3 separate regions of the Homo sapiens genome follow, and regions 1 and 2 are each linked to region 3. Evidence: promoter capture Hi-C in 16 types of primary human blood cells and fetal thymus (Javierre and others, 2016). All regions are on one chromosome and are shown on one strand. The core of a region is centred on a gene start or on the middle of the fragment in contact, and the rest is flanking DNA. Distances in the headings are between cores, read along the strand shown.

Region 1 (2,752 bases), core at 58-2,557, 170 kb before region 3:
CCAAGTCTTTGCTGTTGTGAATAGTGCCGCAATAAACATACGTGTGCATGTGTCTTTATAGCAGCATGATTTATAGTCCTTTGAGTATATACCCAGTAATGGGATGGCTGGGTCAAATGGTACTTCTAGTTCTAGATCCCTGAGGAATCGCCACACTGGACTTCCACAATGGTTGAACTAGTTTACAATCCCACCAACAGTGTAAAAGTGTTCCTATTTCTCCACATCCTCTCCAGCACCTGTTGTTCCCTGACTTTTTAATGATTGCCATTCTAACTGGTGTGAGATGGTATCTCATTGTAGTTTTGATTTGCATTTCTCTGATGGCCAGTGATGATGAGCATTTTTTCATGTGTCTTTTGGCTGCATAAGAATATATATTTTAAAGACTTTTTTCCTCATTGCCAAATTGCTGCCTCTCCCCAGGAAAACTGAACCGGCTTATATTCCTATCAGAGATATATGAATATACCTATTTCTCTAACTGGGCTCCTATTATTTCTATTTATTAAAAATGTTAACTACTTAGGTTACATTTTGGTTTAAAAATATAGTTTATAGTAATAGTTTTTCTACCTGAAAACTAATTTCTCCCCAAGAATAATTTTCTGAATTCTAGACACTGTGAAGTTTTAAATAACAATGGCCTGTTAACATAATCAGATTGAAAAAGCTTATTTATTTTATACCTATAAAAACAGTGTGACATGTATTTTATACTTACAAAAATAGTGTGACATAATATTTCCTTCTTCAAGGTGGTTTTGTTACAATATTATTGATATAACACACTTTTATATTAATGAACCAGGCTCCCAGAACCTTTTTTGATACAAAGCCTGATTTGCTCTCAATATAGTATTTCTAAAAATATATAGTATTTTCTTTAGGTATTTAAGTATAGCATTTCAAATATAGTATTTTCTTTAAATATAGTATTTCAAGAAATATATAGTATTTCAACCAAAAGGCTAATCATCAGAGGTGCACTGTAGTTACTCTTATTCATCCTCTGAATATATTAATGGATTAGAATGTGACTTGAATAATTTTCCATTGCATATTTAATTGTGTAGAAGCAACAATGGGGGAAGTCAAACTGTATCCCACTTTGTTAGAAGGCAGAATAAAATCCTAGGACCCACTAGGTTCTCATAACTTTCCTGTGCTTAGAGTGAGGCATGTAACTCATGATTTGGATAATGAGTGGTAATCATGAGCTAAATGTATAAATCATAAACCTTTTGTGCCACAAAGGATTTATCTTGCCAACATTTTGCAAATTATAATTTCAGAGACTTATGCAAAAAAGTGTGAAATAGTTTTGATTGTATTCAGCAAATCTGTCAGAAATTATACATCTTTCATAGCAGGCCTCTTCATATTTTAAGTATAATTGTGAGGTATACATAGTATCATAAGAATGCAAAATACTTGTTTTTGGGTGATTTGAGCAACTACTAATGGCTATGAAAATTGCTATTTGCTGCCACCTGCAAGTCACATTTCATAATGTTCTAGTTAATTCAGATAAAAATGCCACATTTTTGTTTGTTTTGTTTGTTTTTCCTTCTCCTAACCTTTCTCACTTGTTGGCAATTTATTCTATTTACAGGAATCTGTGATAGTCCATTGCTTCCTATGGCTTGGAGTATTAGATAATGTTTAGGAGTTTTCAAGATGAAACTTCTATAGCAGTCTTTATTTTTTTGGCTTTAAAGTAGGAATTTAACTAAGATTGTTTTCAGCCTGCTTTCATTTGCTTGTGTGCAACTGAAATAATGTGTTTGCCTTGTCCCAATTTTGTCAGTGTTTCTGGACTAGGACCTATGTATGTAAGAAAAGTAAAATGAAATAAAAAATTGGGGGGCCAAATCTGTAGCTGAGAATTTAACTGTTTCCTTGAGTTCCAAATGTGACGTTGGGAGCAGATAAGCTTATTTTATGAAACTCTGTGTAACTGAGCTGTACTTTAATAACAGAGTAGACCTGGTTAATTCAAGCAAGTTTTATGTTCCTTTACGACCCATTCAGGCATTATTTTTAGGAAGTTGGTTGTAATTTATATTTAAAAGATTATTTTTCATACTCAACTTTATATTTTTCTGTCATTTTAGTGAGAAACTCACTAGTTCAATCAAGCTTTCATAAAACGTAGACTAGTACTAGAAAAGAACTTTGGTGAATGTGAGTTCTTTGTGCTTGCCACTGAAACCAAATCATTTCTAAACTCGTCTAGGCTATTTTGTAGTAGTTTTTAAAAATGTGCGAATGTTTGCTTCTTGGCAATTGCTGTTTTAAATAATCACATAAAATAACATTTTATGTTGATTAACATAACATCTGTTGATTAATATTACTGTTAATAGGCCTCCATAATTTAAAGAATTACCCTTGTAGTCATAATAAATAACTTGATGGCATATAATTTATGGAATTTAAAAGTATTAATACTGTATTAATTACCTTTATGTCCTTCCTTATATTTTGCCAATATGTATTAAGTTGTATAACTCAAATACAATATTCATTGCATCAGTTTTTATACCATTTAAAGATATGAAATTCACAATCCCCTTTTTTATCTGCATTTGAATATATAGTAAAGTTTATAAAGAATATTTGTCTAGAGACTTAATTTTCTGTAGAATGAATTAATAAACTTGTATGTATTTATGGAGGGCTCTCAACCCTATGGATGGCAGTGAAAAAATCAAAGACCTTGCTTTTATGGAGCTTACATTTTAGCTCC
Region 2 (2,814 bases), core at 305-2,804, 210 kb before region 3:
GGGTTTAAGCAATTCTCCTGCCTTAGCCTCCTGAATAGCTGGGATTATAGGTGCCCGCCATGGCGCCTGGCTAACTTTTGTATTTTTACTAGAGAAGGGGTTTCACCATGTTGGCCAGGCTGGTCTCAAACTCCTGACCTCGTGATTCTCCCACCTTGGCCTCCCAAAGTGCTGGGATTACAGGCATGAGCCACCATACCAGCCTGAAGCTTATTCTTTGAGAGACAGCCACAATGTATACTTGTGCCGAAGCTTATTGAAGAATAAGCTTCAATGTATCGGGGCAAGTATACATTGAGGCTGTCTCTCAAACTGATTTGCGTGTATTTCTGATCTTCATAAATTTTTAAGTATATATTTCATTGAGGCATCTATTCTAGACTACAATATGGAGTAAAAGAAATACAACAGAGCACCTAAAATTAAAATCATAGTGTTTGAGGCTTGGACTTTGAAATTTACCTAGTCCTATAGTCCCCGATTGTTGATTTTTAGACCAGTGCTGGTTAGTGAAAACGTTTTTACTGGTCCATGGTGAAGTGAGAAAAATAAGGACAGCAGATCATGAGTTTTTAAAAGCTAAACATTTTCAGTTTAAAGGATTGCTTCTTATAGAATATATCTTTCTAATTTAGGGGAATTAAACATGTTATTTATCTCATGAAATTATGGTGATAGTAAATGGTAGGGCTTTAAAAAAATTCATGCCTGGCAAAACAACAACAACAACTTGGTAGCTCTGTGTCATTTCCCCCCACTAATTCTTTCTTTTACATTTTTTGCTGTTTTGTGATATCTTAAAATATGAACCCAACTTTCTCATTTTACAGATGAGGAAACAGACATTGAGAGGTTAATTTGTTCCAGGTCTTACCACTCAGCAGCTTGTGAACCAGGACTAAAACCCTATATCTGATACTGTCTCTCTAGAACTTCTGGTCTTCTGAAAATTGCTTTCATTATAATAGGTTATAAATTTGAAACTGAAGATATAGTAGTTCTTATGTGCTAATAACTATTTTTGATTTCCAAGTATAAAGAAATTCAAAAGGCCATGTTTTTGTATAGCTAAATGCTGAAGTCCACTGATTAGCCTGCATTAGAAGAATCTTAAACATGGCCAAAGATTTGTATCAGCAGATCAGAATTAGCTGTCACCGAATTCAGCTACTTAGGTGTTACACGCTACCCAGTGGCTGACAAAGAAGTTAAAATATCAGCAAAATTATTATTTCCTTTTGGAAGTTGACAGACTATACTGCCACTGTGAAGAGTGGTAGTATTCAAACTTCTATAGTTAATTTAACTACAGAAAGTACTGTTTTCTCTCTCATAGATGCACACCTACACACACACACATACATATTTATAGCAATCAATCTGCAGCCCATCTAGATTTGGAAGGGAAAAAACTACCAAGGTGAAGAGTAGGAGTTACCAGAAGCACTGGCATGAACATATCTGGCCAGTTGTGTTCAGGAGATTGCAGATAGTACTCTGTGACACTTTGGAGGCCCCCCATCAATTGCCTTTGTCTGAACTTTCCCAAAATATGTTTCAAAATGGAAATAATTAGCTCCCTTATCAACCTTGTCTTACTCATCTTACTGAAGCATAAGCCAGATAAACAAATGAATGTGGAGGGAGAGAACAGAATGGAATGTATTCCCAATCCTAATGTGGAAATATTAACTCCAGGGGTACTTTTCCATGGCTTCTTATATTTGGCTTTGTGTGACTTCCTTCTTTAGGTAGGAATTCTTTAATTTCTGAAATGTCAGACATACTCAAAATGAAATGCTAATAAGGATAAAATGCATTTTTGAATTATCTGCTGTCTTTAGAATATGTGGCCTTCTGTTCTTTACTACGGCTAATATGTGAGCATTGACTATATGGCCATAAGATTTCAATATTCAACAGATTTATCAGTCTTTGAGTTATTTAATTAGAATCACTTCTAAGATCTATTTAATACTGAAAAGCAGAATGAGTTTTTTTTTTTTTAAATCACGATACAATTTTGTATTATGGTGGTCAGGCAGCTGAATTATAGTCATTTATTTGGCCATTTTATAAGAAATGGTTTAAGACTGCATTGTTGCATAATTTATTAACAGTCTGACATATTGAAAAGAACATTGACAAACTAACCTATTAAGCTGGTTCCTCCTCTGGCAGATGGGGAGGGCAGATCATGTGGCAAAAAAAGGCATAGTTGTAAAATTCTCCCTGTAACATGAATCTATTCCTATGGGAACTACTACTGCTGCTTAAAGACTTTTTTGGAACCTACACTCATGGTTGAAAGCCCTAAGTTGTATTACTTTATTATAATAAATATGTAAGATGACAGGAGATAGATGTATAACCTATAGATATTTTGTATATTCTTCACTTGAACAAAACACATTTATTATAAAAGTTAACTTTAAAGTTAAATTCTATAACCCAATTATTTTTGGTTAACTTATGTTAAAATCATCTATATATCCCAACAGAGAAAAAGCACCCAGTAAATCGAAGACTTTGTAGATAAAATAAAAGTCTGCACTGTGGTACAATGGGCAGTTTAATTTAGCAGCAAGGTTTTGTGTACAGGGACCTGCAGCAGTTACTCTTTAGCATCAGTTGTACAACATTGACATTGTCATTGTGCTGTCTGCTGCCCTTCTACAGCAATGAACCATTTGTATTGCTCTCTAAACACATATCACCCAGAACTTAGTTTTTCTCCCTTTTTCATTATGTTTAATAAAGTTTGATTATAGCATCATGCTTAGCCAGTAGGTGCCACTTCTAGCCTGATTTATC
Region 3 (2,949 bases), core at 338-2,837:
GTTACTGTAACCTCTCTGGATGTCTGGGAATTCAAATAGTATCTATCTCGTGGGGTCACTGTGAAGATCTAAGGAGACAGGGCTTCCAAAAATGCCTGTCACATCATTGGCACTCAGTAAGTATGATTATTGCCTAATTTATCTCAGTCTTGGCATCCTCATTTACAAAATGGAAAGAATGGGTAATATCCACCTTCATGGTTGTTGTGAACATAAAGATGTACATATAAGTATAATGTACATATAAAATGCCTGTCATACTTAAATAAAAAACTGATAGATAGTAACAAGTGTTGGTAAGAATGTAGGCAAAAAAGAACCCTCATATGTTGCTGGTGGGAATGCCAAATGGTGCATATACTTTGGAAAACAGTTTGCCAATTCAAAAAATGTTAAACATAGAGTTATTATATGACCCAGCAATTCCCTGGGTATATGCCAAAGAGAAATAAAAACAATATGTCCATATAAAAACTTTTACACAAAAGTAATAAAAGCAGTATTCATAATAGCCCAAGGTGGAAACAACCTAAATTTCCATCAACTGATCATGTGGTATACCCAAAAAAGTGGAATATTATTTGGCCACAAAAGAAATGAAGTACTGGTACAGGCTAGAACGTGCATGAACCTTGAAAACGGTTTGTTTTTCAAACAAAGTGTGTTTGGTTTTTTGTTCTTGCGATAGTTTACTGAGAATGATGATTTCCAATTTCATCCATGTCCTTCTTTCATTCAAACAAAGAAGCCACTCGCAAAAGATCACATGTTGTATGATTCCATTTATATGAAATGTTCAGAATAGGAAAATCCATAGAGAAAGTAAATTAGTGGTGGCCTGGGGCTAGGAGGAGGAGAGAAATGGGGAGTGACTTTTAAACAAGAATGGAATTTCTTTGTGGGAATAATGAAAATGTTGCACAAGCTTGTGAATATACTTTAAAAAAACCCTAAATTATATACTTTTGTGGTAGATAAATTATATCTCAATAAAACTATTATTAAAAAACATTTCTCATTTAATATAAGTCATTTTTAGCCCTTAACACCTCAGTTCTCACGTTGGGAATCCAGAACAGGGCCCTGAGTGAATGATGCCCAGGACAGAGAGGGACTTCTTAAGGAAAAGGAATACATCTAAAGTATGGGGAAACAATGTCTCTGTACAAAGGTGTAGAGGGAAGTAGGGAGTCTCTCTTGGGAGGAAAGGCAGTGAAGGCACTTAAGGGGAATAGGAGAAGGAGACAAAATTCACCTGCTTTGAATTTTGCAGGGAGCCAGCCTGGATCACCTTTTATATTCTGGGCTGGAATCACAGCTGATGAATGTTTTGGCATTTAGAACTGTCCTGGAGAAAGGGCGATTGGTGGTTATTAGACAGAATGGAACAAGGAAGAACACAGAGGCAAAATCTGAGAGTTTGTGTCTGACTTTGAAAGGTAAAAGAAGGCAGTAGTCTGTGGAGGACGTATTTATCCAGAGGACTCTATTTGTTTGTTAATCTCTGGGTCATTGCATTTAGGTCAGCACTAACTCTGCTACAGGTGGGATCAATTTAAAGGATTAGAAGTGTCACTCTAAATCCTAATCCAAGTCTTGGTCTGCGGATGCTGAAGAGTGATTTTCAAAACATTTACTAACGCTTTCAATTATTTACCCCATTAATGGAATTTGTCAACAGACTGGAGTCCTTGACAGGATTGTGAATGCATAGAGGATGCAAAGAAATGGACACACTGAGGTAGCTATGCCAGTGGTCTGCATGCGCAGGCAGTAAACTGAAGACATTTGAGCGGTGAATTACTTGGTGAGTAGTTGACAGCTCTTGTTTATAAGAAAGATTGTAATGGGGGGAAAAAAGACACAGCCCACCTGGGAGCTGAGACGCTGATTGAGATACATTAGTTTTACTGCAATATGTAGTAAAAAAAAAAATTTAAAGAATGAAGGAAAGAAGGAAAGAAGGGTTAAAGAGAGCCTTCGAGATACTTTAAGTCAAGATTTGAGCTCAAAGGCTCTCATCCAAGCTTTCGTTTAGTTTCTCTCATGATTCTTTTTTTATTGCTTCCTGATGTTGTCTTATACAAGCTGTTAACTTGATTCAGGCTGTAATTAGAAAGACAAATCAATCTTTCATAGAAGTCCTCGGCTTGACAAGCTGGTATGAGGAGCCATTTCCCTCAGAGCTATTTGTCATAGTCTTTCTTTGTACATGTTTAACGAACGGTGGTTTTCTGTGTGAAGCCAGGCTTCCCATCAGATTGTAAAAACTACCTGAAATGAAATTATGCATCCCTATGCTCTAGCCGCTTTCCATGGAAGTCTGATCCCATGCAGGTGTTCACACCTGAGTAACCTAGGCAATGGCCCCAGAACAACTGTGGGCCAGTAGTATTCTATTTCCAAAATTTCATACCTTCAAACTTTGTTTTAGTTATATCCACATTTCCCATTAACCCCAGGAAAGACTTTAGTGAGCTAATTTTTTTCCTTAAACCAAAATCAGCAGGTGGAGGTTTAGGGCATCCTCCCCCTATCTTGCCCCTTTCTTTCCCTCCCTCCCTCCCTTCCTTCCTTCCTTCCTTCCTTCCTTCCTTCCTTCCTTCCTTCCTTCCTTCCTTCCTTCCTTCTTCTCTCCCTTCATTCCTCCCTCCCCTTCTTTCCTTCCTTCTTTCTCTTCTTCCCTCCTTCCCTCTCCCTTCCTCCCCCTTCCTCTTTTCCTTCCTTCTCTCTTCCTCCCTTCCTTCCTTCCTTCCCTTCTTTTTTTCTTTTTTCTTTTTTAAAGAATAAGTTTCCTTCTGTAAAATCTTGAGTTGGGGGATCAAGACTAAATCCTACAGCAACATAAAACTTTCTGGTTGTCCAGGGAGTCCTAACAGAGTTAGAAATATCACCAAATGCATCACATCGGTACCAGAAAAAATGTAAGGGCAGACCTTCAGCTTGGGA

Evidence for each region. The method cuts DNA at HindIII sites, captures the fragments that hold promoters and counts their contacts. A CHiCAGO score of 5 or more calls a contact.
Region 1: a contact is called between a fragment that was not itself captured here and the fragment with the promoter of GUCY2F in region 3, in 2 of 17 cell types (total B cells and naive B cells). The highest score is 5.4, in total B cells.
Region 2: a contact is called between a fragment that was not itself captured here and the fragment with the promoter of GUCY2F in region 3, in 1 of 17 cell types (monocytes). The highest score is 5.6, in monocytes.

The regions. Positions count from the first base shown.
Region 1 is chrX:109,650,795-109,653,546 of GRCh38, reverse strand. The region is part of intron 15 of ACSL4 (acyl-CoA synthetase long chain family member 4); the gene reads left to right. Among named protein-coding and RNA genes, the nearest start is that of KCNE5, 27 kb to the right of the region's middle. The HindIII fragment of the contact is 1,263 bases long and covers 676-1,938 here.
Region 2 is chrX:109,692,456-109,695,269 of GRCh38, reverse strand. The region is part of intron 2 of ACSL4 (acyl-CoA synthetase long chain family member 4); the gene reads left to right. Among named protein-coding and RNA genes, the nearest start is that of ACSL4, 39 kb to the left of the region's middle. The HindIII fragment of the contact is 2,568 bases long and covers 271-2,814 here.
Region 3 is chrX:109,480,724-109,483,672 of GRCh38, reverse strand. GUCY2F (guanylate cyclase 2F, retinal) reads left to right here and starts at 1,587. Exons shown (of 20, transcript NM_001522.3): 1 at 1,587-1,807. The HindIII fragment of the contact is 1,102 bases long and covers 928-2,029 here.